Linked DNA regions of Homo sapiens: all the other regions are linked to region 1. The links are contacts of gene promoters, found by promoter capture Hi-C in blood cells and fetal thymus (Javierre and others, 2016). All regions are on one chromosome and are shown on one strand. The core of a region is centred on a gene start or on the middle of the fragment in contact, and the rest is flanking DNA. Distances in the headings are between cores, read along the strand shown. Region 1 holds the start of ANKS4B (ankyrin repeat and sterile alpha motif domain containing 4B). Region 2 has its middle 81 kb from the start of LINC02890. Region 3 has its middle 33 kb from the start of LINC02890. Region 4 has its middle 40 kb from the start of CDR2-DT. Region 5 has its middle 21 kb from the start of CDR2-DT. Region 6 overlaps CDR2 (cerebellar degeneration related protein 2).

The links. The method cuts DNA at HindIII sites, captures the fragments that hold promoters and counts their contacts. A CHiCAGO score of 5 or more calls a contact.
Region 2: a contact is called between a fragment that was not itself captured here and the fragment with the promoter of ANKS4B in region 1, in 7 of 17 cell types (total CD4 T cells, naive B cells, total CD8 T cells and 4 more). The highest score is 14.2, in total CD4 T cells.
Region 3: a fragment that was not itself captured here is called in contact with the fragment with the promoter of ANKS4B in region 1 in 4 of 17 cell types (fetal thymus, monocytes, endothelial precursors and 1 more); the score reaches 10.7 in fetal thymus.
Region 4: a contact is called between a fragment that was not itself captured here and the fragment with the promoter of ANKS4B in region 1, in 1 of 17 cell types (total B cells). The highest score is 5.2, in total B cells.
Region 5: a fragment that was not itself captured here is called in contact with the fragment with the promoter of ANKS4B in region 1 in 1 of 17 cell types (erythroblasts); the score reaches 5.9 in erythroblasts.
Region 6: a contact is called between a fragment that was not itself captured here and the fragment with the promoter of ANKS4B in region 1, in 1 of 17 cell types (erythroblasts). The highest score is 5.8, in erythroblasts.

Annotation. Positions count from the first base shown.
Region 1 is chr16:21,231,565-21,236,356 of GRCh38, forward strand. It overlaps ANKS4B (ankyrin repeat and sterile alpha motif domain containing 4B), which reads left to right and starts at 2,135. Exons shown (of 2, transcript NM_145865.3): 1 at 2,135-2,337. The coding sequence starts at 2,174. It overlaps LOC105371123 (a long non-coding RNA gene), which reads right to left and starts at 2,038. Exons shown (of 2, transcript XR_001752344.2): 1 at 1,928-2,038. The HindIII fragment of the contact is 3,732 bases long and covers 843-4,574 here.
Region 2 is chr16:22,692,444-22,697,235 of GRCh38, forward strand. No RefSeq gene overlaps it. Among named protein-coding and RNA genes, the nearest start is that of LINC02890, 81 kb to the left of the region's middle. The HindIII fragment of the contact is 1,092 bases long and covers 1,692-2,783 here.
Region 3 is chr16:22,644,068-22,648,859 of GRCh38, forward strand. No RefSeq gene overlaps it. Among named protein-coding and RNA genes, the nearest start is that of LINC02890, 33 kb to the left of the region's middle. The HindIII fragment of the contact is 4,039 bases long and covers 332-4,370 here.
Region 4 is chr16:22,412,170-22,416,961 of GRCh38, forward strand. No RefSeq gene overlaps it. Among named protein-coding and RNA genes, the nearest start is that of CDR2-DT, 40 kb to the left of the region's middle. The HindIII fragment of the contact is 7,565 bases long and covers 1-4,792 here.
Region 5 is chr16:22,393,329-22,398,120 of GRCh38, forward strand. It overlaps the pseudogene SLC68A2P. Among named protein-coding and RNA genes, the nearest start is that of CDR2-DT, 21 kb to the left of the region's middle. The HindIII fragment of the contact is 7,194 bases long and covers 1-4,792 here.
Region 6 is chr16:22,351,175-22,355,966 of GRCh38, forward strand. The region is part of intron 2 of CDR2 (cerebellar degeneration related protein 2); the gene reads right to left. Among named protein-coding and RNA genes, the nearest start is that of CDR2, 21 kb to the right of the region's middle. The HindIII fragment of the contact is 554 bases long and covers 1,901-2,454 here.

The DNA of each region.
Region 1 (4,792 bases), core at 885-3,384:
GTGGTTTCACCATATTGGCCAGGATGGTCTCAATCTCTTGACCTCGTGATCTGCACCCCCTCAGCCTCTCAAAGTGCTAGGATTACAGGTGTGAGCCACTGTGCCCGGCCCAAATATTTTATAGCTATACCAATCTTTAGTCTGATATAGAACATTATGATGATGTCTGAAATCTTCCCTTATGATTGTGGTTTTGTTTTTTTTTTTCTGTTTAATTTTTGCTTTCCCTTTTTTGCAGCTGTGTTATTTAATTTATACAAGTTTAAAACGATCATAGTTTCTTGATTAATTGTTCCTTTCATTATCATGTATTATCTCTCTTTATGCCTAGTAAATTTTTTTGGCTTAAGCTATATTTTTCCTTGCTACCAATACGGGTGCTCTTCAACTTACAATGCAAAACCACCATAAGTTGATATAATAACTCAGTTGTGAGCTGAGAAGCATACTAAATACCTGTCATTTTTGTGCCATCATAAAGTTGAAAAATTAGGTCAAACTCTCATAAGTTGCAGACCATCTATGTGGGTACACCAATGTTTTGTTAGTATTTGCTTGCTATAACTTTTCCATTTTTTGCTTTCAATCTTTCTGCAATTTTATATTTTAGATATGTCTATTATAAACAAGACATGGCTGAGTCTTCCACATCATAAATTTAGTCCATTTTCTTTTGTTTTTATTACAGATCTGGAAATTTTTTGGTCTTATATTGTACTCCTTATAGTCATTTTTCTATACTTTTTCTCCTTCCCTTGAGTTATTGATAATATGTTTAAGTTATTGATTTGAGATCTTTTTTCTTTCTCATATATGCATAAAAAACTACAAATTTTGCCCTAAGCTTTTCTTTAACTGCATCCTATAAATCTTGATATGTGGTATTTTCATTTTCATTCTGTTCCAAATATGTCTGATATAGGACTTGTATCCAGAGTATATAAATAATTCTTATAATTTATTAATAAGACAACCACTTAAAAATTGGGCAAAAAGATTTGAATAGAAGATGTAAGAATGGCTAATGGGCACATGAAAAGATGCTCAATATCTTAGTCATTAGGAAATTGAAAATTAAAGCCATAATAAGACCACTTCATATCCACTAGGATGACCATAAACAAAAAGATAGGCAATAATAAGGCTGGCAAGGTTGTGGAGAAATTGAAACCCTCATACGTTATTGGTGGAAATGTGAAGTAGTACAGCCACTTTGGAAAACAGTCTGGCAACTTCTGAAATTTAAATGTAAATTGCCATGCAACCCAGCAGTTTCACTCCTTGATATATACGCAAGACACATGAAAATATGTGTCCACACAGAGACTTGTACATCAGTGCTCATAGCAGCATTATTCATCATTACTGAAAAATGGAAACAACCCAAATATTCATCATATTCATGAAACATTGAATGGATGAAGAACATGTGGTATGTTAGCACAGTGGAATATTATTCAGCAGTGAAAAGAAAGAAACCATTACATGCTACACATGACAAACCTCAAAAAAGTATGTGAATTGAAACAAGCTATACACTAAAGACTATATATTGTAGGATTCCATTTGTCTGAAATGCCCGTAAAAAACAAATCTATAGAGACAGAAAGCAGACTGTGGTTTCCTGAGGTTGGGAGTGGAAATGGGATTGACAGCAAATGGCATGAGGGATCTTTAAGGGCTGATGGAAACTGGATTATGATAATGGGCATGCAACTCTATAAATGTCCTAAAAATCATTGAATTGTATGCATGAAATGGGTAAATTTAATGATGTTATACCTCAATAAAGCTGTTCTTTTTGGAAAAAACAGCTAGTGAACTAGAGTAGCTCTGCATTTTATTAAGAAATTATTTCTTACATCCTGTGCCTAGATGGCCAATATTACACTCAAGAAACTAATGGACATAGAAAAATTGAATGTACCTCCAAACACTCAAGATGAATACAGCAGTCTTCAATAGTCAACGTCATGGCCATTCCAGAGAGAAAAGGTCCAAGTTCAGTGCCTCGAACCTTGTTGCCTTCCGTGAAAGGAAGCAGTTGAAATGAGCTTTGCCCCTGGTGACACTCTTCCTTGTCACTAATTAACCAGCTCTATAGGAAGGTTGCTCCGCCAACACCTTGCTCTGCCTGGAGAGACATCTGGCCAAGTTCTGGTGAGCAGGAAAAATGTCTACTCGTTACCACCAAGCTGCTAGTGATAGTTACCTGGAACTTCTAAAAGAGGCTACCAAGCGAGATCTAAATCTTTCGGATGAAGACGGCATGACTCCTACTCTCTTGGCAGCCTACCATGGGAACTTGGAAGCCCTAGAGATAATCTGCAGTAGAGGGTAAGTTCAACCCGATGGTTTCTGTTGGAAACAGTGTTCATGGTAGGTTTTTGCAGACAGCAGCAAGAGGCAGGGACGTCAATACAAATACTTTATCCTCTTTCTAGATTGTCTAAATGATTGGATTTTTAGAGAAAGAGAGAAAACTATGCCTAGAGATGCTCTCTTTTCTCACTGAGGACTGGCACTATAGGAGTGGCTCATCCCTTAGCCACAATCAGAGGAGAGACCCTGAACTACGGCATTATCTGCATGGGGAAGAGGGAAGATATTTTAATTCTATGCCTTTAAAAATGCTTTTCATGAAATTTAAATAGTTTTCTCTTTTCAAAGAGGCCATTGTTTTACTTGGTTTTAAGTTGCCAACCTTGGTTGGAACAAATGACATGGTTTTAGTTTTTTTTTTATCTATGCCATCAAAATCTCACAGTCTTTTATTAACTTTCAATCCCAGTGCAAGCTCATGATTTTTTTATTTTTTATTTTTGACACAGGGTCTTGCTCTTTTGAATGGAGTTGCTGGCTCTACAAGGACTCTTTAGCCTATCTTAACTCTATCACTTCTTTGGCTAGTGGATAGATACACACACACACACACACACACACACACACACACACACCCCATCTCTTTGCCCAGATTTTAATGGAGGAGTAAGCTAGTTCCTCTGCTTGTTCTGCCTGTTATCAGAGGGCTAGGTTGTGTTGGCAACCGTAACCCAAGAGGGGTAAAGAAAGAGAAAAGGACAAGGTAAATAAAGGAGCCAAGTGAATCCAATTGAATACCCATTTATTCAGTATTTGTTATGTGCCAGCCACTTATCTCTTAAGATAAGAGATATTTTGCTAGCCACTGGGCACACTGTGATCAACAAGACAGCCACAGTCCCTGTCATAGTGAGCAGATTTGAGAGGGGAAGACAAGACATCTATGATATTTGTGTGTGTGTGTGTGTGCATGTTTGCTCTGAGACAGGGTCTCACTCTGTCACTCAGGCTGGAGTGCAGTGTCAAGATCATAGCTGACTGCAGCCTTGAGCCCCAGGCTCAAGTGGTCCTCCCATCTGAGCCTCCCGAGTAGCTGGGACAAGAGGTGTGCACCACCATGCCCAGCAATTTTTGTACTTTTTGTAGTGATGGGGTTTTGCCATGTTGCCCAGGATGGTCTTCAACTTATGAGCTCAAGCGATCTGACAGCCTCGGTCTCCCAAAGTGCTGGGATTACAGCTGTGAGCCACTGTGCCTGGCTCATCTATGATATTTGTTACAAAAAGGGAAATAGAGGGCACTAAATAGGCATCTACCTCAATCTCAGGGGTGAGGGAAGGCTTCCCTAAGGGGAAAGCATTTAAGCTGGGATTAGGAAAATGAGAACAAGTTGGCTAGACGAAAGAGTGTTTTCCCTAAGATGGAAAACTGCTCTAGTTCTGAGAACTAGAGAAGCTGAGTATGGCTGGATGTGGTTCAAGTAGGAGTGGGGTCAGGACAAGTATAAGAGATAAGACCAGATCACAAAGAGCCTTGTCAACTCTGGTAAGGACTTTATCCTAAGGGCCCAGGAAGCCATGTCTTGGGTAGGGAAGCTGCCAGAGTAGATTTATGTTTACAAAACTCACTCAGGTAGATGGATAACAGTCGGAGAGAATGTTTGGGGACTGTTTTAGTGGTCGAGATGAGTTGGACTAGGGTAGTGACATTGGGAATGGGAAGATATGGTTGGATTTGAGTGGCAGTTTGGATGTAGAATCAATAATGATTGACTGGATGTGGGCAGATAAAGGAAAAGGAGGGTTAAGGTCCCAGGTTTTGGATGTTGACACCCTTTATTAAAATAGGGGACATTTAGGAAGTGTCAGAAGAACCCAGGATTGGGAGAGTTCCTGAGTTGAAGATTGAATGAGAAAGTGAGTGAAGCAGATCTTCCCCATCTCTCTTGTCTGAATAAGACTTTCTTTTCTCAGACACATCGATCCCCATCAGCCAGCCTTCTCCAGTCATCTCATCTCTTCTCCTACTCAGCCTAGGGTTCCCCAGCTTTCTCCATCTACTGAAAGTCTACCTCATTCCACAAACTGCAAGATGTCAGTTACTTTAAAATCAAAGTATTAGCCTATTCTTGCATTGCTATAAGGAAATGCCTGGGCCTAGGTAATTTATAAAGAAAAGAGGTTTCACTGGCTCATAGTTCTACGGGCTGTACAGGAAGTATAGTAGCTTCTGCTTTTGGGGAGCCTTCAGGAAGCTTCCAATCATGGCAGAAGGAAAAGGCATCTCACATGGCAGAAGCAAGAGCAAGAGAGCAAGGGGGGAGGTGCTAGAAACCAGATCTAATGAGAGCTCACTATCATGAGGACAGTACCAAGGGGAATGGTGCTAAACCATTCATGAGAAATTCGCCCCCACGATCCAGTCACCTCCCACCAGTCCCTACCTCCAACATTGCGGATTACAATTTGAT
Region 2 (4,792 bases), core at 988-3,487, 1.5 Mb after region 1:
TAGTGCAATTCTCCACCCTGGGCCATGTTGTGCTGGAATCATTTGTTTATATCATTGTTTCCCCTATAAATGCTCAGACGTCAGGGACCAAGTCTTATTCCTAACATCTAGGAAGTGTTAGGCACAGAGTAGATGCACTCACTAACTATTGCAGCATAACCAATCACTCCACAACTTAGCAGCTTGAAACAGCAAACATTTATTGTCTCAGTTTCTGTGGGTTAGGAATTTGGGCATGGCTTTCCTGTGTATCTCTGGCTTGAGGTTGCTTACCAGGTTGCAGTCAGACCTCAAAGTCTCTTACCAGGTTGCAGTCAGAGTACATGCTGGAGCTGTGGTCTCATGTGAAGTCTCAGCTGGGGAGAATCTGCTTCTAGGCTCCCTCCCATGGTTTTTGGAAGGTTTCAGTTATTTGTAGGCTGTTGGAGCTAAGGGTCTAGGGTCTCGGTTTCTTGCTGACTGCTGGCCAGAGGACTTCCTCAGTTCTTTGTCACTGGGATCCTTGGACAGCTCACAACATGGCAGCTGGCTTCCCTTGGAGTGAGAGTGAGAGAGTGCTCCAGACGGAAGATGCCATCTCTTTGTAATCTAATTCCAGAAGTGACATCTCTCCTCTTCTGCATTCTGCTTGCTAGAAGTCGGCCACTAAATAAAGCCCACACACAAGCGGGGAGGGAATTACACAAGAGTGGGGCTACCAGGAGGCAGGGAGTATTGAGGTCATCCAAGAAGCTGCGTACCGAAATGCCCTGCTTATAGTTATGTGCTGTGGTTACTCAGCCTTGGGATTCAGATTGCCCAGGTTCAAATCTTAGTCCTGTCACTCTGTGAAAGTTTACTTACCTGTAATGGGCATCAAGGGCTTCTTGACCCATAGAATTGATATGGGGACTGTGTTTAACAGAATGCCTGCTTGCCTCTAAAAAGGTGACCTATGATTAATGTTGTTTTAAGAAATGATGATGATGATTTTTTTTTTTTGAGATAGGTTCTCTCTCTGTCACCCAGGCTGGGGTGCAGTGCCATGAACATGACTCACTGCAGCCTGGACCTTCTGGACTTAAGTGGCCTCCTGAGTAGCTGGGACCACACGTGAATGCCACCATGCTTGGGTAATTTTTAAAATTTTTGTAAAGAGAGGGTCTCACCATGTTGCCCAGGCTGATCTTGAACTCCTGGGCTCAAGGAATCCTCCTGCCTTGGGCTCCCTAAGAGTTGGGATTACAGGTGTGAGCCACCGTGTCTGGCCAAAGTAATGATTATTGAATGTATCATAGGTATCTAGGTAAGAGAGTGACCATACGAAAAAATGGAAGAAGCATGACTGGTTATATGCTCAGTTCTCTGAATCACCCCCTCCGACTCAAGTTCCTCATTTCTAGATTTTTTCCTTCCTATAAATTAGCTTGATCTTTCCCTGGTATGACTCCTACAACTCTGCCCCGGCCTCCAAGTCTAAGTGAGCTCTCCCTATTGTGCTCAAATCCTGTCCTTTTCCCACACCAGATCATTTTAACCCTTGCCATTCTTCAAGCCAACAATTCTCCCAACAATTTATTTCTTCCGCTCCCACCACTCCAGTGCTCAGTCAGTGAGTGATTCTGGGAAGAGTGGTCTGGCTGGGTTGGATGGCCAGGTCTATTTCAAGTTCATCTCAGCTGTCTGGTCATTTTTTATTTAAAAAAAAAAAAAGCTTTGGGAAGTAGTCTATTTAAACACACGTAAGCAGCTGTTCCTCCCTTTCCACCTGCTTTCATCCCTTTCTCAGCAGATGGGATCATCATCTATTTTATTGAAATAACAATAATACCCCCAAGTTTTGTTTTGTTTCATTTTGTTTTTATGAGACGGACTCTTACTCTGTCTCCCAGGCTGAAGTGCAGTGGCACGATCTTGGCTCACTGCAACCTCTGCCTCCTGGGTTCAAACGATTCTCCTGGCTCAGCCTCCTGAGTAGCTGGGATTACAGATTTGCGCCACCATGCCTGGCTAATTTTTGTATTTTTAGTAGAGATGGGGTTTCACCATGTTGCCCAGGCTGGTCTTGAACTCCCGACCTTAAGTGATCCACCAGCCTTGGCCTCCCAAAGTGCTGGGATTACAGGCATGAGCCACTGTGCCCCGCAAATACCCCCAAGTTTACTGACCTCTTAACTATGTTAGATGCCAATCTAAGCCCCTTTAATGGATTATCTCCATTGTCACAATAACTCCTACGAAGATAGTACTGGGACTATCCTATTTTACATATAAGGAAAGTTAGGCTCAGAGATATGGAATGATTGACAAATGTCCAACAGTAGAGCTGAGATGTGAATCCATGTTAACCTGATCCCCAAATTGAAGCTCTTACCCACTTTTACTGAAAAGCCGTTTGGATTCTTTAGTCCACCTACTTTCTATCTCTGCTTAATGGGCTGCAAGATGCCCATTTCACTGAACTTGTTTCTCCTAAGGACCTGCAGGCTGCTTTGCTGAATGCTCCTCCTCCGCCTTGATCCTGCTTTGGCATTCCAAACTGCTGGGTTTGTGATCCTTTTTGGATCTCTTCACTAGTTTATGGGGCTCTGCATGCTCTTGGCTCTCCAACAACCACTAGAACTTCTTACTGACCGGCTGTTTTCATTCCATCCCTTAAATGTCAGCATGTTCTGAGGTTCTGTCTCAGCCTTCCTTGCAGGCTACACATTCTCCCTGGGTGACCTCATGTCCTCTCGTAGCTCCAGAATCGTTGCTTCTTAAATAATCTCTCTGTTAATTTTTTAGTCCCTGCTTTTATTTGAAGCTTCTGATCTGCCTTTCTAACCAGTGGGTGTTCTGGGAGTGCTTCAAAATCAGCTTGACTCAACTCAATGTCATCTTTCCCGAAATACTCTCTTCACCCGTGTTCCTTAGCCTAGTAGTAAAAACAGTCTACCCAGTCTGGACTTTAGTTAACAAATTCTGTTTATTTCTCCAAAGCAGTACCAGCGATTATTCCTCTGGAAAGACCTCTGTCTCAGCTCAATTTTCCTCTACCATTTGACTGGACTATTGCAATAATTTCCTAAGGGTCTCTCTGTCTTCAGAATCCTCACTGCTATCCATCTCCAAAGACATAGACCTATTTATGTTATTTGGCATCTTGAATTTTTCCTGCTATATATTTCATAAATACCAGATTTCTTGGACTAGCATTCCATGACCTTCTCATATTGCCCACACTGACTTTGCTAAGTTTATTTAATTATTAAAAGTACTATGTGGGGCTGGGCGCAGTGGCTCACTCCTATAATACCAGCACTTTGGGAGGCTGACGCTGGAGGATTACTGGAGCCAGGAGTTTGAGACCAGCCTGGGCAATATGGAGAAACCTTGTCTCTACGAAGAAAAATGCAAAAATTAGCTGGATGCGGTGGCACGCCTGTAGTCCCAGCTACTTAGGAGGCTGAGGTGGGAGGATCGCTTGAGCCCAGGATATGGAGGATGCAGTGAGCTGTGACTGCACCACTGCACTACAGCCTGGGCAACAGAGCGAGATCCTGTATCAAAGTCCCAGCTACTTAGGAGGCTGAGGTGGGAGGATCGCTTGAGCCCAGGATATGGAGGATGCAGTGAGCTGTGACTGCACCACTGCACTACAGCCTGGGCAACAGAGCGAGATCCTGTATCAAAAAAATAAATAAATAAAATAAAAAGTACTATGTGATAATTACTGATAGAAAAGCTCTTCATTTTTATAGGTTTATCTTACAACCATACAGCATCTGAAATTTCTACTTTAAGTGGTAGATATAATGGATCACAGTGATAGATTCTCCTGCATCAGCCTCCCAAGTAGCTGGAATTACAGGTGCCCACCATGATGCCCAGCTATGATGTTAAGCCATTCTTGTGCTCCTAATATAAGTGTATTATTCTTTTGATGAACTGATGAGCTTAATTTTCTAATATTTATTTACAAATGTGTATCTGTATTCATAAATGAATTTGTCTGTGGCTTTCTGTTTTTGTGCTTTCTTCATCAGGCTTAACTAATAAGGTGATTCTAATTTCATAAAAGTAGTAATATCAAATATGTATGCATGTGGGCCTTAATAGGCACCAGACACTGTTCTAAGCAGTTGATAGTTATAAACTCACTTAATCTTCACAACAATCTCCATGAAGTAGAGTTTCCTCGTCATTTAACAGAGAAGGGAGTGGAGAAAGGAAGAGAATAAATAACTTGCCCAAGGTCACACAGCCAGTAAGTATTATAGCCATGACTTGAACAAGGCAGAATGGTTCTAAGAGCTTTGTGCAAAGTGCTTTGCTAACTTCTTCGAAGTCATAGTCAACTTGGGGAGTTTCATTTTTTTCTGTAGTCTAAGATACTTTAATAATATAGGAAGAATTATCTTTTTTTTAAGGCTTGGTAAACTTGGATGTAAATCTATGCAAGTGTGGTGATTTTTAAAATGGTAGATCTTGACCTTTCCAATCGTTCATGTTATTGATCTGTTTAGGTTTTCTTCTTCTTTGGTCAATTACTTAAGTTTTAATTTTGTTAGACTTTCTTCAATTTCCCTTTGATATTTAAATCTGTTGCCATGGCCTTGCACAGATTTGAAGATATTGCTCCATTGTTTTCCAGTTAATATTTGTTGTTAATTAAAAATGTGATGCCAATCAGATTATTGTCTCCCCTATACTTTCTATATTGATTTCTTTCTTTTTCTTTCTAATTCTTTTTTTTCTCTCTCTCTCTTTTTAGTAGAGTTTCTCTGTGTTGCCCAGGCTGGAGTGCAGTGGCGTGATCTTGGCTCACTGC
Region 3 (4,792 bases), core at 1,101-3,600, 1.4 Mb after region 1:
AGTCCTGGGCTTCATTATGGGCCCTGCCACTAGTAAGTGAACTTGACAAGTTATTTAACTTTTCTGAGCCTCAGTGTCCTCATGGGGAAAAACAGGGCTAAAAATCTGTCTAGCTCATGGAGTGGGTGTAGGATTAAATGCAATATACATATAAAATGCCTTGCCATATAGTAAATGCTCAATAAAAAGATAGTAATTGTTATTACCATCGTTATTATTGAACAGCAAGTGATAAATTGGGATATCCTGACTGTCCTAAATTGTGTCAGAAATGTGGGATCTGGTTCATATTTATAGAGACTTCTTGTTCTTTCAATTGTTCAACCTAAAAAGCTTAGAGTTGTCGTTAAATCTTCCATTTTTCTCACTTTCCACAACCTGTCCATTGGATATTCTTGTTGATTCTACCTTATAATCTAGGTAGAGTCAAGCTACTTCATTTTTTTTTTTTTTGGCAAAATTCAGAAGACAATGTAAAATACATGTTATCAAATGCATTACAAATAACATTTCTATATTGATCAGTGATTTTTTTTCCTTTTCAACTTCTATTTTAGGTTCAGAAGGTATGTGTGCTGATATGTTACATGAGTAAATTGCGTGTCACTGGGGTTTGGTGTACAGATTCTTTTGTCACCCAGGTAATGGGCATAGTACCCAACAGGTAGTTTTTTGATCCTCACCCTCCTCCCACCCTCTATCCTCAAGTAGGCCCCAGGGTCTGTTGTTCGTTTCTTTGTGTCCATGTGTATTCAGTGTTTAGCTTCCACTTATAAGTAAGAACAGGCAGTATTTGGTTTTCTGTTCCTGCATTAATTCGCTTAGGATAATGGCCTCCAGTTCCATCCATATTGCTGCAAATGACATGATTTCATTCTTTAGTATGGCTGCATATTATTCCATGGTGTGTATGTACCATATTTTCTTTATCCAGTCCCCCATTGATAGGCATTTTGGTTGATTCAATGTCTTTGCTATTGTGAATAGTGCTGTGATGAACATATGCATGCATATATCTTTATATATTTTTTGAGACAGGGTCTCACTCTGTTGCCCAGGCTGGAGTGCAGTGGTGCAATCAGGGTTCACTGCAGCCTTGACCTCCTGGGCTCAGGTGATCCCCCCACCTCAGTCTTCTGAGTAGCTGGGACTACAGGGGTGTGCTACCATGCCTGGCCAATTTTTGTGCTTTTTTTTTTTTTTTTTTTTTGTAGATACAGGGTTTTGCCATCTTGCCCAGGCTGGTCTCAAACTCCTAGGCTCAAGCAATCCACCTGCCTTGGTCTCCCAAAGTGTCAGGATTACAGGCATGAGCCACCACACCTGGCTGCATGCACTGTGTCTTTATGGTACAATGATTTATATTCTTTTGGGTATATACCCAGTAATGGGATTGCTGGGTCTAATTGTAGCTCTGTTTCAAGTTCTTTGAGAAATCTCCAAACTACTTTCCACAGTGGTTGAACTAATTTACATTCACACCAGCATTGTATACACATTACCTTTTCTCTGCAACCTCACCAGCATCTGTTGTTTTTGACTTTTTAATAGTAGCCGTTCTGACAGGTGTGAGATGGTATCTCATCGTGGTTCTGATTTGCATTTCTCTGATCAGTGATATTAAGCATTATTTTCATATGCTTGTTGTCCACATACATGTCTTCTTTTGAGAAGTGTCTGTCCATGACCTTTGGCTATTTTTTAACGGAGTTGTTTGTTTTTTGCTTGTTAATTTGTTTAAGTCCCTTATAGATTCTGGATATTCCAGAATCTAGCTACTTCTTAACACCTCCATTGCCTTCTTAACGCCTCACTCTTGTCTGAGCCACTGTTGTCTCTCTCCTAGATGCTGCTACAGCCTCCTAGCTGGTCTCCCTGCCTCTCCATCCTTGATCCCTACAGGCTTCTTTCAACATAGTAGCCAGAGGGATCCCGGTAAAAATACAAGTCTGTCTGTGTCTCTTCTGCACTCAAAACACTCCAATGGTTCTGCAACTACCCCAGAGTAAAAACCAAAGTCATTCCAATGACCTAGGAAGCCCCACGTGCTCTGCTCCCTCCCTGATGCCTCTCTCTTCTCACCTCCTGCCAGTCTCTCCCTCATTCAGTTCATTTCAGCCACCTAGTTTATTTACTGTTTCTTGAACACACTGGGTACATTTCTACTTTGGGGACTTTGCACTGGCCATTCCTTCTTCCAATGCTCTTTTCCTAGATATTTGCCTGGCTAATTTCCTCTTCTTCTACAAATCTGTTTTCCAACGTCACCTTCTGTATGACCACTGTGTCTAAATATCAGTAGGCAACCCCTGCATGATTTCCAGTTCCCTGCCCACTGTGCTTTTTCTGTCTTTTCTTAGCACCTCTCCCATTTAACATACCATATGCTTTACTTATCATGTTTATTGCTTATGGTCAATCTCCCTCTTCTAGAATATAGGCTTCCTAAAGACAGGGATCTTTGTTTTCTTCATTGTTCTATCTCCAGTGCCTACAACAATGCCTGGGACATATTAAGCATTCATTAAGTATTTGTTAAAGGGGAAAATGAACCAAAGGGAAGGAATAACCAAAGGGAAGGAATAAGTTTTTTAAAAAAACTTTGTTGGAATAAGTTTTTTAAAAAAACTTTGTTGAAAAAAGTCTTTTCTTCCCATTTAAAAACGTGGTTTTGTTTCCGATTACAATCCAAATACACAAATTTTAAAGAAGAGTGAAATGATTTGCCATCATTGGACCCTCATTCCTTCATGGCAACTGTGGGCAGAGTAGAGAAAAGTTGCCCTCTTTAGATCAGGCAGACCCTCTCCAGTTTGCTGTGGTGCCAACTGAGCTCACTTTCCTCTTAGAATTCTGACACCTGGAGGTATCAGGGTTTGCTTCCTTTGATACACTTTGCTAGGAACTGGAGTGTCTATGCTCCCATTTGCAAGGAAGGAGTTCCGTTCCTGGGAGCTGGATCTTCCCCTCTGCCTGGGCTCTCTATTCATGTTTGCAGTAATTAGACACCAGGTTGATTGACCATGAAAGATAAGTTCTCAATCACTCCTGAACACATAAACATACCATGAGTACATGAAATAAAAATGTTACGTGCTGGGAACATCAATCAGAAGGGTAATGTTTATGTAGCATTGTTAATTGGATTTCTACAATGGGATATTCGGTGGGTTGGGGTTTATCTGATAACACCGTAGTCTGTGACAGCAACTTCTGTGACTCAGTGTGGCTTCAAGGTCAAGGAACTGAGCGTCCTCCTGACCAACAGGCTGAGGAGATTGTTGGGAGTTCTTGTGGGCCAGGCTCTTATCGGTGAGCTGTATGGAGAACACCATCTCTCAGATTTATCCATAATTTTAATGAATGCTCTGTTTGAGATAATGACCCATATCTTGACTTGCACAAAGCCCTGAAAATACTTCTACGAATTGTGTTTTATCTGAAGTACTGCAGCATGCAGCATCCAACATTACCATTGATATCATCTATTGAGAACTCTTTCCCAGGTTCTTTATTAAGGTTTAATTAAATTTTATGTCTTATCAATTAGGATTAATCTATATTTAGTCTGAATTAGAGGGAGCCAATTATAAATAACACCACTTCTCATTTATTCCTGAATACAAAATGAAGGTTTTTAAACTTTCTTTGGAGGAAAAAATAAAAAACCTCACAACCCCCCTGACTCAAATGTGTCCCTTTAAAGAGTTTTATGCCCAGGAGACCACAAATTCTATTATAATAAAGTGAAAAGATGATAATTCCTATAGGAAGGTGTTACAGACAGAAATGGGGGTCCGGAGGGAAAAGAGAGAGAATTTCTGTTATGATGTGGGCAATTGAAACAAAGAGATTTTCAACTTTAAAGTTTTCACTTGGAGCAATGGCACAAAGATAAACTGAATTTTCCAAGGTTATTGTGACATCTCTGTTTCTAGAAGAGGACAGACCAGCTTGTGCCCTGCGGTTGTGTTCAATGCTGTTAATTAAATATTTCCAATTCTGTTACTTCTGGGCACGAATTGGATCATACTCCTCCCCTCTCTTCACCTTGAAGTCAAATGTGGGCATGGGACTCGTTTGGTCAATGAAATGCAAGAAGAAGCAATATCTGTCAGTTCCATTTGGAAGCGCCCATATGGACTAGAGTGCAATTTCTCATGTTTTCTTCCTCCTGCTGCAGTGGTCATGGAAACACAATTCAGACAAAAGCCCCATTAGCCCAAGATGGGTGGCGTCTTCTCTGCCAGCCTGCATTGTTTGTGCAACATGAGCAAGAAGTAAACTTTTGTTGTGTTAAGCCATTGAGATGTTGAGGTTTTTGTTACTTCAGCGTCATGTAGCTTATCCTGCCTTATAGAAGCTCTATAAGCTTTAGTTTCTTCTAAGCTTTGGTACTGACTTCATTGGGTTGTTATATGAGGAAGAATAATGAAGTAATTAACAAAAAGTGTTTCATTTAGTGCTGGCACACAAGTACTCGGTAAATATTAGTGCTTCCTATTATTGTTGTTGTAGTTGGGGATGTCTATGTATTATGGCTAAATGATCCTATTTGGAATATTCTGATGGTATGTTCAAAGTTTATTTAAACTCTTAGTATTTCAATGTCTTGCCTTTCCACCTGATCAGAACAGAAGCTTCACATCGAGCACTTCTATTACCCCCTGCTAAAGAGTTTACAAAGCCTTCTAATGCACAGTTCTATTTACTTTCTTCTTTCCCTTACAACGCTATTGAATAGTCCTGTGGTATATAGTTTAAGAAAAGGCAAAAAGCCTTATGATAAAAG
Region 4 (4,792 bases), core at 1,701-4,200, 1.2 Mb after region 1:
TAATTTTGTATTTTTAATAGAGACGGGGTTTCTCCATGTTGGTCCGGCTGGTCTCGAACTCATGACCTCAGGTGATCCACCCACCTTGGCCTCCCAAAGTGCTGGGACTACAGGCGTGAGCCACCATGCTGGGCCAAACATTTTCAAATATACAAAAAAGTTTTAAAAGTTACACAGTAATCTACATTCAACTATTTATAACCTACTGTATTAATTTTATCATGTATTAATTAATGTATCCATCCTTCTGTCAATTAAACCATCTTATTTTCCTCACAACTTTTTATTATAAAATTTTCCAAATATAAAAAAAGTTTAAAGAAAATTACAGAGAAAATACATGCATATACCCACTTCTTAGATTCATCAATTGCTGACATTTTACCATATTTGGTTTATCTGTATCTCTGTGTGTATGCATATTCTGTTCTCTGGACTATTTATTTTTATTTTCTATTTTTATTTTTAGAGATGGGATTCTGCTTTGTCACCCAGGCTGAGAGTGAAGTGGTACAATCATAGCTCATTGCAGCCTCAAACTTATTTATTTACTTTTTTAGAGATGGGGTCTTGCTGTGTTGTTCAGGCTGATCTCCAACTTCTGGCCTCAAGTGATCCTCCCACCTCAGTCTCCCTAGTTGCTGGGATTACAGGTGTGAGCCACTGTGCCCGGCCACTTTATATGTTGAAGTTTGTGTCATGTCATGACATAAGGTGCTTTCTCATTCTTCCTTTTTTTTGAGACAGAGTCTTGCTCTGTCGCCCAGGCTGGAGTGCAGTGGCATGATCTCATCACACTGCAAACTCCACCTCCTGGGTTCAAGCGATTCTCATGTCTCAGCCTCCTGAGTAGCTAATTTTTATATTTTTAGTAAAGACAGGGTTTCACCACATTGGCCAGGCTGGTCTCAAACTCCTGACCTCAAATGATCCACTTGCCTTGGCCTCCCAAAGTGCTGGGATTACAGGTGTGAGCCATCACACCTAGCCTATATATCTTTTTTTTTTTTTTTTTTGGAGACAGGGTCTTGCTCTGTCTCCCAGGCTGAGTACGGTGGCTCAATAACAGCTCATTGCAGCTTTGAACTCTTGTGCTCAAGGGATCCTTCTGACTCAGCCTCCCTAGTAGCTGGGACTGCAGGTGCACGACACTGTGCCTGGCTAATTTTTAAAAATTTTTGTAGAGACAGGGTCTCACTAGATTGCCCAGGCTAGTTTGAAACTCCTGGGCGCAAGTGATCCTTCCTCCTTAGCCTCCCAAAGTGCTGGGATTACAGGCGTGAACCACCGCATCCAGCCTTCTCTGAACCATTTTAAGTTAAATTGCAGATCTAGTGGCATGTCACCCCTGATAGTTAACCATGCATCTCCTAGAAATTAAAAAAAAAAACAAAAAAACAGAAAAAATGGCGACTGGACAGTTTTTAGTTTTGAGCGGGGGTAATTACCTGATTTGACTTACCTTTTTTTTTTTTTTTTTTTTTTTTTTGAGACAGAGTCTCATTCTGTTCACCCAGGCTGGAGTACAGTGGTGCAGTCTCGGCTCACTGCAACCTCTGCCTCCTGGGTTCAAGTGATTCTCCTGCTTCAGCTTCCTGAGTAGCTAGGATTACAGGTGTGTGCCACCACATCCAGCTAATTTTTGTATTTTAGTAGAGACGAGGTTTCACCATGTTGGCGAGGATGGTCTCGAACTCCTGACCTCAGGTGATCCGCCTGCCTTGGCCTCCCAAAATGCTGAGATTAAGGTGTGAGCCACCACGCCCAGCCTTGACTTACTTTTTAACAGCCTCCCTTGGGGTGCCAGCCTCCCTTGGGGTGCTGTGTAACGAATAGACTGAAAGGAGTTAGGAGAAGTCACATGGAAGAACCTGTTGATTAGTGACATGAGTTACAGCACAATTGATGGCAGCTAGAGGGGGTGAAGTCGAAAAGTCAATCAGGGCTGATGATGTGAAGGATCTGTACACTGGATTTAGAAGATGTATGTGCTTTTAATCCTATACATTAGGGTTTCACAAATATGATGAATTTTTGACATTTGTTATATGAGTACTCTATGTACTAATATTTACTCAGTATTTTTCTTTAAATTTATTTTAAATCACTAACTTAAAACAAATCTTAACTGCCATAAGAAAAAGCAACCATAAAATCATTCATTTGGTAGGTTTCAATTTTTCTAACGCCAGTAAAATAAAAAGAAATGGCTGGTGGCTCACTCCTGCAATTCTAGCACTTTGGGAGGCCAAGGCATGATCACCTGAGGTCAGGAGTTCGAGACCAGCCTAACCAACATGGTGAACCCCCATCTCTACTAAAAATACAAAAGTTAGCCAGGTGTGGTGGTGGGCGCCTGTAGTCCCAGCTACTCGGGAGGCTTAGGTATGAGAATCGCTTGAACCCAGGAGGTGGAGGTTGCAGTGAGCCAAGATTGTGCCACTGCACTCCAGCCTGGGCTACAAGAGTGAAATTCCATCTCAAAAAATAAAAAATAAAAATAAAAAGAACTATTATGTATCATGTAAAAATTATCATGTGTGCCAGCAGGGGTCCAGATGCTGTACTTTGGGAAAGACCACTCTAGGTAAAGGGAAATCACTGAAGATTTGAATGCATGAGACAAACATCATCTGAGCCAGGCATAGTGGCTCACACCTGTAACCCAGCACTTTGAGAGGCCGAGGCAGGTGGATTGCTTGAGGCCAGGAGTTCAAGACCAGCCTAGCCAACATGGCAAAACTCCATCTCTACTAAAAATACAAAAATTAGCTGGGCGTGGTGGCATGCGCCTGTAGTCCCAGGTACTCGGGAGGCTGAGGCACAAGAATCGATTGAACCAGAGAGGCAGAGGTTGCAGTGAGCTGAGATGGTGCCACTGTACTCCAGCCTGGGCAACAAAGCAAGACTCTGTCTCAAAAAAAAAAAAAAAAAAAAGAAAGAAAGAAAAACATGATCTGAATTTTGTTTTAGAACAATCTGTTTATAGTGTAAAAGAAGCACTGAAGGCTTAATTACTAAATGGAAAAATGAAGGCTTAACTACTAGTTGCCTACTATATCATAAGTGCTCAGAATATGAAGATAAATAAAATAGGTTGCTGCAACTAGCTGTTTACAATCTAGTAAAGGAGACAGACATGAGGAGAGATTTTTGCAGCACGAAATAGTAGATACTATGATTAGAAGTATATATAAGATATAATGGTGGCTAAAAGGTGGGCATGATCATCACTGTCTTGGGAACCAAGTCCAGGAAGGCTTCACAGAAAAAAAAATGCTTCAGCCAGGTTTCAGTGGAGGCATAAATACTGTGCATGGGGCCAGGTGCCATTGCTGATGCCTGTAATCCCAGTGCTTTGGGAAGCTGAGGCAGGAGGATCCCTTGAGGCCAGGAGTTTGAGACCAGCCTGGGGAACATAGCAAGATCCCCTCTCTACAAAAAATTGAAAAATTTGCCGAGTATGGTGGTGCACAGCTGTAATCCTAGCTACTTGCTAGGCTGAGGTGGGAGGATTGTTTGGGCCTGGGAGTTGGAGGCTGTAGTGAGCTATGATTGTGCCACTGCACTCCAGCCTGTGTGACAGAGCAGGATCCTGTCTCAATAATAATTATAATAATAATACTGTGCATGGAGATTGGATGTATCCAGTGAAGAGAAACAGTATAGACATATGTGCAACGCATAGATGTGTAAAATGATACAGCATTCATTCAACAAATATTAACACCTACTACGTACCAGGTCCTGTGCTAAACCCAAAGGAAAAAGAGGAAAAGATGCAGCCCCCACTCTGAATAAGCTCACAGTCAATTATAGTGAGAATCTTAATGTTGGATGCTAGGTGCTATTACAGATGTAAGTGTGGGCTGTTGAGGGAGTGCCCACTGGCTTAGCATACAATTCAGACTGAGGAGAAAATAAATGATCTCTCTAATGAATTTTGAAAATTCATAGTAGCAGGGAGTCTGTGCAAGCACAGAGAGGCATGAGGTTGTAGGACATGATTGGAGGAATGGCTGATGGTTTAGTAGTAGAGCTTGAGAAGTGTAGACCTGATCCTAAAAGGAAAGGAGCATTATAATTATTAAACCAAGAAGTAATAATATCAGATTTGCCTTTTAAAAGATAACCCTGGGCTGGGCGTGATGGCTCACGCCTGTAATCTCAGCACGTTGGGAGGCCGAGGTGGGTAGATCTCTTGATCTCAGGAGTTCGAGACTAGCCTGGGCAACATGGTAAAAACCCATCTCCACAAAAAATGCAAACACTAGCCGGGCATGGTGGCATGCACCTGAAGTCCCAGCCACTTGGGAGGCTGAGGCAGAATAATTGCTTGAACTCGGGAGGTGGAGGTTGTAGTGAGCCAAGATTGCGCCACTGCACTCCAGCCTGGACGACAGAGCCAGACCCTGTCTCAAAAAATAAATAAGTAAAAATAAAACATTAGGCCGGGCGCGGTGGCTCACGCCTGTAATCCCAGCACTCTGGGAGGCTGAGGTGGGCGGATCACGAGGTCAGGAGATCGAGACCATCCTGGCTAACATGGTGAAACCCCGCTTCTACTAAAAATACAAAAAGTTAGCCGGGCATGGTGGTGGGCGCCTGTAGTCCCAGCAGCTCGGGAGGCTGAGGCAGGAGAATGGCGTGAACCCGGGAGGCAGAGCTTGCAGTGAGCTGAGATTGTGCCACTGCACTCCAGCCTGGGTGACAGAGCAAGACTCCGTCTCAAAAAAAAAAAATAAATAAATAAATAAAATAAATAAATAAAATAAAAGATTACCCTGAAGTG
Region 5 (4,792 bases), core at 1,071-3,570, 1.2 Mb after region 1:
TTTTTCATGATTGGCTGCTTATGTCTTTTTTTGAGATGTATCTGTTCATGTCTTTTGCCCACTTTTTAATGCAGTTGTTTGTTTATTGCTTGGTCAATTGCTTAGGTTCCTTATAGATTCTGGATATTAGACCTTTGTCAGGTGCATAGTTTGCAAGTATTTTCTCCCATTCTATAGGTTGTCTGCCTACTCTGTTGATAATTTCTTTTGCTGTGCATAAGCTCTTTGGTTTAATTAGGTCCCACTTGTCAATTTTTGTTTTTGTTGCAATTGCTTCTAAGGATTTAGCAATAAATTATTTCCCAAGGTTGATGTCCAGAATGGTGTTTCCTAGGTTTTCTTTTAGGATTCTTATAGTTTGAAGTCTTACATTCAAATCTTTAATCCATCTTGAGTTAATTTTTATATGTGGTGAAAGGTGCAGTTTCAGTCTTCTGCATATGGCTAGCCAGCTATCCCAGCACCATTTATTGAATAAGGAATCCTTTCCCCATTGCTTATTTTTGTTGATTTTATTGAAGATCAGATGGCTGCAAGAGTACAGCTTTATTTCTCAGTTCTCTGTTCTGTTCCATTGGTCTATGTGGCTGTTTTTGTACCAGTACCATGCTGTTTTGGTTACTGTAGCCTTATAGTACGATTTGAAGTCAGGTAATGTCACTGGCTTTGTTCTCTTTGCTTAGGCTTGCTTTGCTATTTGGGCTCTTTTTGGTTCCATATGAAATTGCAAATAGTTTATTCTAACTCTGTGAAAAATGATGTTGGTAGTTTGATAGGAATAGCATTGAATCTGTAGATTGCTGTGGGCAGTATGGACATTGTAACAATATTGATTCTTCCAATCCATGAGCATGGAATGTTTTTCCATTTGTGTCATATATGATTTTTTTCAGCAGTGTTTTATAGTTCTCCTTGTAGAGATCTTTCACCTCCTTGGTGAGATGAATTCCTAGGTATGTTAATTTTTTCTGTGGCTACTGTAAATAGGATCGCATTCTTGATTTGGTTCTCAGCTTGAACATTATTCATGTAAAGAAATGCCACAGATTTTTGTACATTGATTTTGTATCCTGAAACTTTACTGAAGTCATTTATCAGTTCCAGGAGTCCTTTGGTGGAGTCTTTAGGGTTTTCTATGTATAGAATCATATTGTCACCAAAGACAGATAGTTTGACTTCTTCTCTTCCTATTTGGATGTAATTTCTTTCTTTCTTTTGCTTGATTGCTCTGGCCAGGACTTCCTTCTTTCATCTCTTGATGGACATTTGGGTTGGATCTGGTTTTTGGCTGTTACAAATAAAGCTATGAGCATTTTGTGTCTTTGTATGGATATATGCTTTCCTTGCTCTTGAGTAAATACCTAGGAGTAGAATGGCTGGGTTGTATGGAAGGTAGATGTTTACCTTTCTCTTTACTTTTTTTTTCCTTTTTTTGTTTGAGACAGAGTCTCATTCTGTCGCCCAGGCTGGAGTGCAATGGCGCAATCTCGGCTCACTGCAAGCTCCGCCTCCTGGGTTCATGCCATTCTCCTGCCTCAGCCTCTCGAGTAGCTGAGACTACAGGCTCCCGCCACCACGCCTGGCTAATTTTTTGTATTTTTATTAGAGATGGGGTTTCACCATGTTAGCCAGGATGGTCTCGATCTCCTGACCTCGTGATCCGCCTGCCTCGGCCTCCCAAAGTGCTGGGATTACAGGCGTGAGCCACCACGCCTGGCCGGTATGTAGTATCTTACTGTGTTTTTGATTTACATTTTCCTAATGACTACTAATGATGTTGAGCATCTTTTCATATGCTTACTTGCCATCCATGTATCTTTTTGGTTATTTATTAAAATAATTTGTGTCTTTTTAAATTGAGTAATTAGTCTTCATATTATTGAGTTGTAGGAGTTATTTGTATATTCTAGGCACATGTCTTTTGTCAGATATATGATCAGTAAATACTTTCTCTTAGTCTCTCTTGGTTACTAGTTGTTAAGAGAAGTATAGCCAAAAGATTTTAACAGTCATTTTTCTTAAGCCCTCACAAAAACATAGGACTTTCTATTGATCTCAATAAAAAATTATTATAAAATGGAAATCCAGGTCTGGCCCAATGGCTAACACCTGTAATTCCAGCACTTTGGGAGGCTGAGGCAGGAGGATTGCTTGAAGCCAGGAGTTTGGGACCAGCCTGGGCAACACAGCGAAACCCTGTCTCTACAAAAAATAAAAGAAAATCCAAAGTTGCTTGAAATTTATTCTTAATTTCTAGAGAATTAACACGTGTAAATTATTGTGGTAAAAAATGACAGCTTGGCCAGGCGTGGTGGCTCACGCCTGTAATCCCAGCACTTTGGGAGGCTGAGGTGGGTGGATCATGAGGTCAGGAGTTCAAGACCAGCCTGCCAAGATGGTGAAACACTGTCTCTACTAAAAATACAAAAAATTAGCCGGGCGTGGTGGTGGGTGTCAGTAATCCCAGCTAGTTGGGAGGCTGAGGCAGAGAATTACTTGAACCTGGGAGGTGGAGGTTGCAGTTAGCCGAGACGGTGCCACTGCACTCCAGCCTGGGTGACAGACTCTGCCTCAGACAAAAAAAAAAAATAATGACAGCTCATTGGAATCTGTTGTTCTTGTTATTCATTTGGCTAAGTCTCTTTAACACTTTATTGGATAAAATAATGAAGGGTGAGCACTATGTTTTCATTTTCTCTTTCTCTCTCCGTCCTCCCTCCCTCCCTTTCTCCCTTCCTCTTTCTTTCTTTCTTTCTTCTTTCTTTCTTTCTTTCTTCTTTCTTTCTTTCCTTTTCTTTCTTTCTTACCTTTTCTTTCCTTTTCTTTCTTTCTTTTCTTTCTCTCTCTCTCTTTTTCTTGAGACAGTCTCTCTCTCTCTCTCTCTCTCTCTTTTTCTTGAGACAGTCTCGCTCTGCCACCCAGGCTGGAGTGTGATGGCATGGTCTCAGCTCACTGCAATCTCCGCCTCCCAGATTCAAGCAATTCTCCTGCCTCAACCTCCCAAGTAGCTGGGATTACGGGCATGTGCCACCATGCCTGGCTAATTTTTGTATTTTTAGTAGAAATGGGGTTTCACCATGTTGGCCAGGCTCGTCTCCCAACTACTGACCTCAAGTGATCCACCTGCCTCGGCCTTCCAAAGTGCTGGGATTACAGGCGTGAGCCACCGCACCCAGCCCTCAGGCTGGTTTTCTTTTTGAGGAGTTGAATAAATAAAGGAGAAAAGGATGAATAAATACTCTGTCTCCCTAATAACTGTTGGTATAGGTCTGTCACTCTTCCATATTACACTCCCCAGAGAGGCAGAGGAGTAACTGGGTTAAGAGCATGGATCTGCAGTCTGCCCAGGAGGAGCCTGGCTCTCCACTTACTAGCTGTGCAATCCTAGGTAAGTTACTCAACCTCTCTGTGCCTTAGTTTCCTCATCTGTAAAATGAGGATCAAAATAGTACCTACTGGTCTGGGCACAATGGCTCCCAGTACTTTGGGAGGCTAAGGTGGGAGGGTCACTTGAGCCCAGGAGTTTAAGACCACCCTGGGCAACATAGCGAGACCCTGTCTCTATAAAAAATTTAAAAAAATAGCCAGACATAGTGGCACACACCTGGAGTCCCAGCTACTTGGGAGGCTGAGGTGGGAAAATCGCTTGAGCCCAGGAGGTCAAAGCTGCAGGGAGCCGTGATTGTGCCACTGCACTCCAGCCTGGGTGACAGAGCAAGACCCTGTCTTAAAAAACAACAAAAAAATAGTGCCTACCTAAGGAAATTATTATGAGGGTTAAATGAATTAAAACATCCAAAGTACTTAAAACGGTTCCTGGCACAAAATAAACCCTCTAGAAATGTTAGCTCTTATTATGTACAGCCAACTCAGTGCAGCAGGTATCTATTAGACTTTCACTGTGAGCACAGCACTGCCTTTATCCCTCTGTCTTGATGTAGGCTCCTTTGCCACAGGTTTGCCAACACTTATGTTGGAACACACTGTTGAATGGGGAGCCAAAATCTTTCATCTGTAGAAGGCTTTATTTTAGTTAAAAAAAAAAAAAAAGGCGGTCTTTCTCTTTTCTTTCATGATTTTTGTGATACTACTCATCATTGGCTTATATCTTTTTATATATTGGACACAAGAAAAATAGCTACCAATTATTAAGTGCCTTATATGTTGAGTATGGTGCTAGGTAAGAGAAGAGAAATGGAAGAGAGCAAGAGTGAGAGAGAGAGAGAGAGAGAGAGAGAGAAAGTTTGTCTTGGTGGGGGAAATGCCTCTTAGGTAAAGTAACTTGTCTGTGAAGAAATAGCTGGTAAAAGTGGCAAAGCTGGAATTTAAACCTAGGGACATCTGATTTCAAAATCTTTCACTTTTTAGCCAGACGTGGTGGTGCATGCCTGTGGTCAGCTACTTGGGATGATTGCTTGAGCCCAGAAATTTGAGACCAGGCTGGGCAGCATAGTAAGACCTTGTCTGTAAAAAAAATCTTGCACATTCCACTCTACCACATATTTCTTACATTATTAACTTCTTGTATTTTGTATGTTTATGTACTAGAGATGGAGAAACAGCAGCTGCATTTCAATATGTGGAAATGTGTTCCTTTATAATATTATAATAATATTTAAGAATATAATTGGACTTGTTGGGGTATTTTATATACTTCCTCTTACAGAACTCTAAGAAATGCCTTGGACCACATCAATCACTGATCCATTGTTTTTTAGTATCCAGAAAATGAACTCTTGTTCCTTGAAAGTAGAAAAGTCAGTCAAAAAATCAGTCAGGGTAAAAAAAACCC
Region 6 (4,792 bases), core at 928-3,427, 1.1 Mb after region 1:
CTGCAAAGGACATGAACTCATCCTTTTTTATGGCTGCATAGTATTCCATGGTGTACATGTGCCACATTTTCTTAATCCAGTCTATCAACTGATGGACATTTGGGTTGGTTCCAAGTCTTTGCTATTGTGAATAGTGCCGCAATAAACATACGTGTGCATGCGTCTTTATAGCAGCATGATTTATGATACTTTGGGTACATACCCAGTAATGGGACTGCTGGGTCAAATGGTAATTCTAGTTCTAGATCCTTGAGGAATTGACACCCTGTCTTCCACAATGGTTGAACTAATTTACACTCCCACCAACAGTGTAAAACGTTCCTATTTCTATGTGGAGGATCTTAATTTGGAAAAAAAAATCAATCTCTTTCTCTGAATGAGGCATTCTGGACCAAAAAAAATGAAAAGTATGTTGCTTTGACGAGAAATATATTTTAGCTTAATATGCTTCAAAGACTCCTGTTATTTTTAATTTTATGAGAGTTTTATCACCATTATCCTCCTTATTCACGAGAAATTTATCAGATGATTTATTCTGGTCCTGCTAAGACTGCTTCCTAAATGGCCAAGGATAAAGGGGAATAATCCCAACCTTAATGCCGCAGTGTAAGTCACCTTGATTCCCTCCCTGCTCAGCTCTACCTGAAGACACTAAAACACAGTATATATTCCAAAGGAAAAAGTCACAGTATTTCCCTGGACAGAACCAGAAAGAGGGGAGAAATGGTTTGAAGCTTACTGATGATCAAACTGTAAAAGACTCAGAACTTGACTTTAAAAACACTCTTCTTGGCCAGGCATGGTGGCTCACACCTGTAATCCCAACACTTTGGGAGGCCAAAACAGGCAGATTGCTTAAGGCAGGCCAGGAGTTCAAGACCAGCCTGGCCAACATGACAAAAACCCACCTCTAATAAAAATACAAAAATTAGTCCGGCGTGGTGGCACGCGCCTGTAATCCCACGTACTCAGGAGGCTGAGGCATGAGAATCTTTTGAACGTGGGAGGTGAACGTTGCAGTGAACCGAGATCGTGCCACTGCACTACAGCCTGGGTGACAGAGACTGTCTCAAACACAACACAACACACTCTTCTTGAGGCTTTTTCTACAACTCTAGAAGGATTTGCAAGGCTAACAAACAATGGGCTAAATGACACTCAACGGGCCCTTAAAGTGTTGAAAAAAGCATATATGGCTTTTTTTTTTTCAAATCCATTTACATAACTCAGCAGCAAAGAGTTGAACAAACACTTAACCTAACTTCAACTTTCTCATCTGAAACTCTTGAAGTCAAAAGTGTTTTGGAAAATTCTTTAAATTTTAGAAAGACAACATGGCGCTCATACCTGACACACAGCTGACACCTTATAATACCTGTGAGGTCTGGGCAGCACCCTGTAATCAAGCATTAATATTTCTGCATCAAAAAGTATGAACTAAGACTATAAACAGCCTCACATCAGTTCAGGTAAAGATCTACTACCAAATGAATCTGTTGCAAATTTAAGGGGAAAAAAAAAATCTTGCTTTATAGAGCTTTTTGAGTTCGGAATTAGTAAGTGGATCTGTTAGTACCTACCATGTAGAACTGGCAGAATTAAATGAGAAAGGTGAGCACATGGCACGGTCTATAAAAGCCTGTGTGTAGTCTTCACTGCCTCAACTCCCACCAGCTTCTTCTGGTCCTTTGGAAATCAACCACTAATTCTCATGCGTGAAGCTTTCTCAGAACTAAAGGAGTAGGCCCTTAATCCTGCCCTCGGGCTAGTAATTCCATAGTAGGTTCTTGTCATTGATGGGAACATGTTCAATCTCTTAGGAATTGATGAGATTCCACAGGAGCGGAAAAAAGGCTTAGAATCACAAGAATATATATATAATAGCTGCAGAAATGTTTCAAGCTTCTTTATATCAAGTATAAATTATCAAGTATTCTTTAGGACTCAGAACTACCTTTAAAAAGGCTAATGCATAAGCCAGACATTAATTTATTAATATACAACAGGAACTGTTCCTGCCCAGTGACAAGAATATTCACATCCTCTATTAGGACACAGCTGCCCCACAAAGGGCATGTGAAAGGCCGATTCATGAATGAGAGTCTCTGGTAGACATGGGATCAGAGGAGTCTGATGGGAGGCAGTGGTATAGTAGCTAAGAGCACAGGCTTTGGAGTCAGAACCTGGTTTGAGGTCTTGCTTTGCTGTTTAGAACTGGGTAACCTACAGCAAGCACATTTTTCTAATGTGAGTTCTCCTCATCAACTACTTCATAAGGCTGTAAAGATAAATATGTGTGTGGGAGAGACTGGACTATGTCACCCCAAAGCATGCGTCTTTGGCATAAAAAGGTTCCTGCCTCCTCCCTCTCTACCAGGGAGAACAAAGGTTAACCACTAACAACTTTAGACCTTTATGGGCCAGAAGACAGCACCAGAGGAATCCACACTAACAAGCTTTGCTAACGGGCCTTTATCACCACTTACTTGCCTTCCCACAAGTTCTGCCCCTAGACAAAGTTCTTCCCCTTTGTCTTGTCACTTCTCTAAAAAATTACCATTCTTTGTTGAAGATACTACATAAGCTGGAATTCAAAGCCACCTCTGAGAATGACTCATCCCCTGGGTATCTCCCACACATATAAATGAAATAGATATGTTAGTAAGCTTGTTTTTCTCTTGTTAATCTGTCTTTTGTTGCAGGGGTCCTTTCCAACTAAGCACTCATGAAGGTTGAGGAAAAAAATATTTTTCCTCCCTGACATATACAAATATATAATTTACAAAAACGTTAATATATGTAGAGAGCTCAGCATGAGATCTGGCAGATGGTAAATTGCTCAATAAGGAGAAGCTACTGTCATCTTTATTTAAAGCTACAGTTTTCAAACTTTACATGTGCTAAGATTCACCTGGAAGAAGATTTATTAAAGTGTAAGAACCTGGGTCCCTTCCCCTCAAACGGCTGAGACTGGAGTAGAGCCAGGATTCTGCATTTTTAGCAACAAACCCAGGTGATATTAGTACAGGCAGTCCAGAGATCACACTTAGAGAAATGTTGATCTTGGACATGGAAAATCCTGGACGTCCCCTGCCCTGACCAATGTCCTTTTCTCTTGGGTCTAGGAGACACAGGCATTCACTGGATCAATGATGACTCTTCAGCTTAATGCTCACCGTCTCCCTGCATAGGGCTCAGCTTAGATGCAGTTATCCACTAAGATTAGGTTATATTTTAACTGTACCACAGCAGCATTCATCATCATAACGCTTCACTTTGGTATGTTCTTAACAATCATTAATTCCCTGAAATTACAAACTAGTTACCTTAACCTTGCTTGAGTGATCCTTCCTAACTTCTCAGTCCAAACAAATACTGAATTTCTACAGATGGCTAATCTTATCCACTGCATTTTAAAACTTTCTATTGTGGACCAGGTGTGGTGGCTCATGCCTGTAATCCCAGCACTTTGGGAGGCCAAGGCGGGTGGATCACTTGAGGACAGGAGTTCGAGACCAGCCTGGCCAACATGGTGAAACTCCATCTCTACTTAAAAAAAAAAAAAAAAAATTAGTTAGGCATGGTGGCACACGCCTGTAGTCCCAGCTACTTGGGAGGCTGAGGCATGAGAATCACTTGAACCCAGGAGGCAAAGGTTGCAGTGAGATAAGATCACACCATTGCACTCCAGCCTGGGCGACAGAGTGAGACTATGTCTAAAAATAAATAAATAAATAAAACTTTCTATTGTGGATAATCTCAAACATATATACATGCAGAGAAATGGTTTAATGAACTCCCACGTACCCATCAACCAGTTTCAACAATTATCAACATACAGCCAATCTTATTTCATCTCTACTCTCCTACTTTCCTCGTCCTCCAATCATTTTAAAGCTAATCCAAGGCATCTCAAGTATACATCTTCATACATTTCTAGGACGTTTTATTTTAACCACAATTCCTAAGGGAAAAAAACTCAATAATTCCTTAACATCTATTACGTTTCAGCATTAATATTTTCCCAATTGTCTCAAGTGGTTTTTCCAGCTTCATTTGTTAGCTATTGATTTTTTTAAAATTTCACACTTAGGGGAGATATCTTTGCCTTTTTTGGAGTTGCCCCACTGCAAGGCAAGTGCCTCCCTCCTCTAATGCCTTTACGATCCCCTATCCGGGGGGATGCAGTTCTCCTGGCTGCTCCACCTAAGCCAGCAGTTCTTAGCCTGGGGTCCATGGATAGACTTTAGAGGGTCTGTGAACATGGATGAATTTAAAGGGTCTGAACAGCTACATCTTCATTTTTGTTAACTTCTAAATGAAATTTGACATTTCTTTCAAGTACTAATAGATCTGTTAAAATTTATAGGAGACCACTGGTTTGGACTGAGTCCCTGCCCTAGGCCCAACAAACCAAACCAAAATGGAGTCACTTGTGCTAAAGTTCCATGTCAGCAAGCCAAAGCAAAGTTGTTCATCTGACTTCTGAGAAATTAGAAGAGATAATAGCCAAGCCCCCAAACATGCCAGTTTTAGCCAGCATAAGGGACTTCCCTCTGCTTTAACCTTTACAAATAAATTAACTTTGAAACCACCCATTTTTTGTTTTCTGTTTCTGCTTTCCTCAGCCCCTGTCTATAAAACCAACTTCCTCTGCTCAGCTCATTGAAACCCTCATTCTCTAAGAATGAGGTGTTGCCCAACTTTAGAATCTCAAATAAAAGCTAATTAAGATCTTTATACTATGTTTGTCGTAATTTTTTCTTTTGACAGAGGCAATAAACCACTAGTA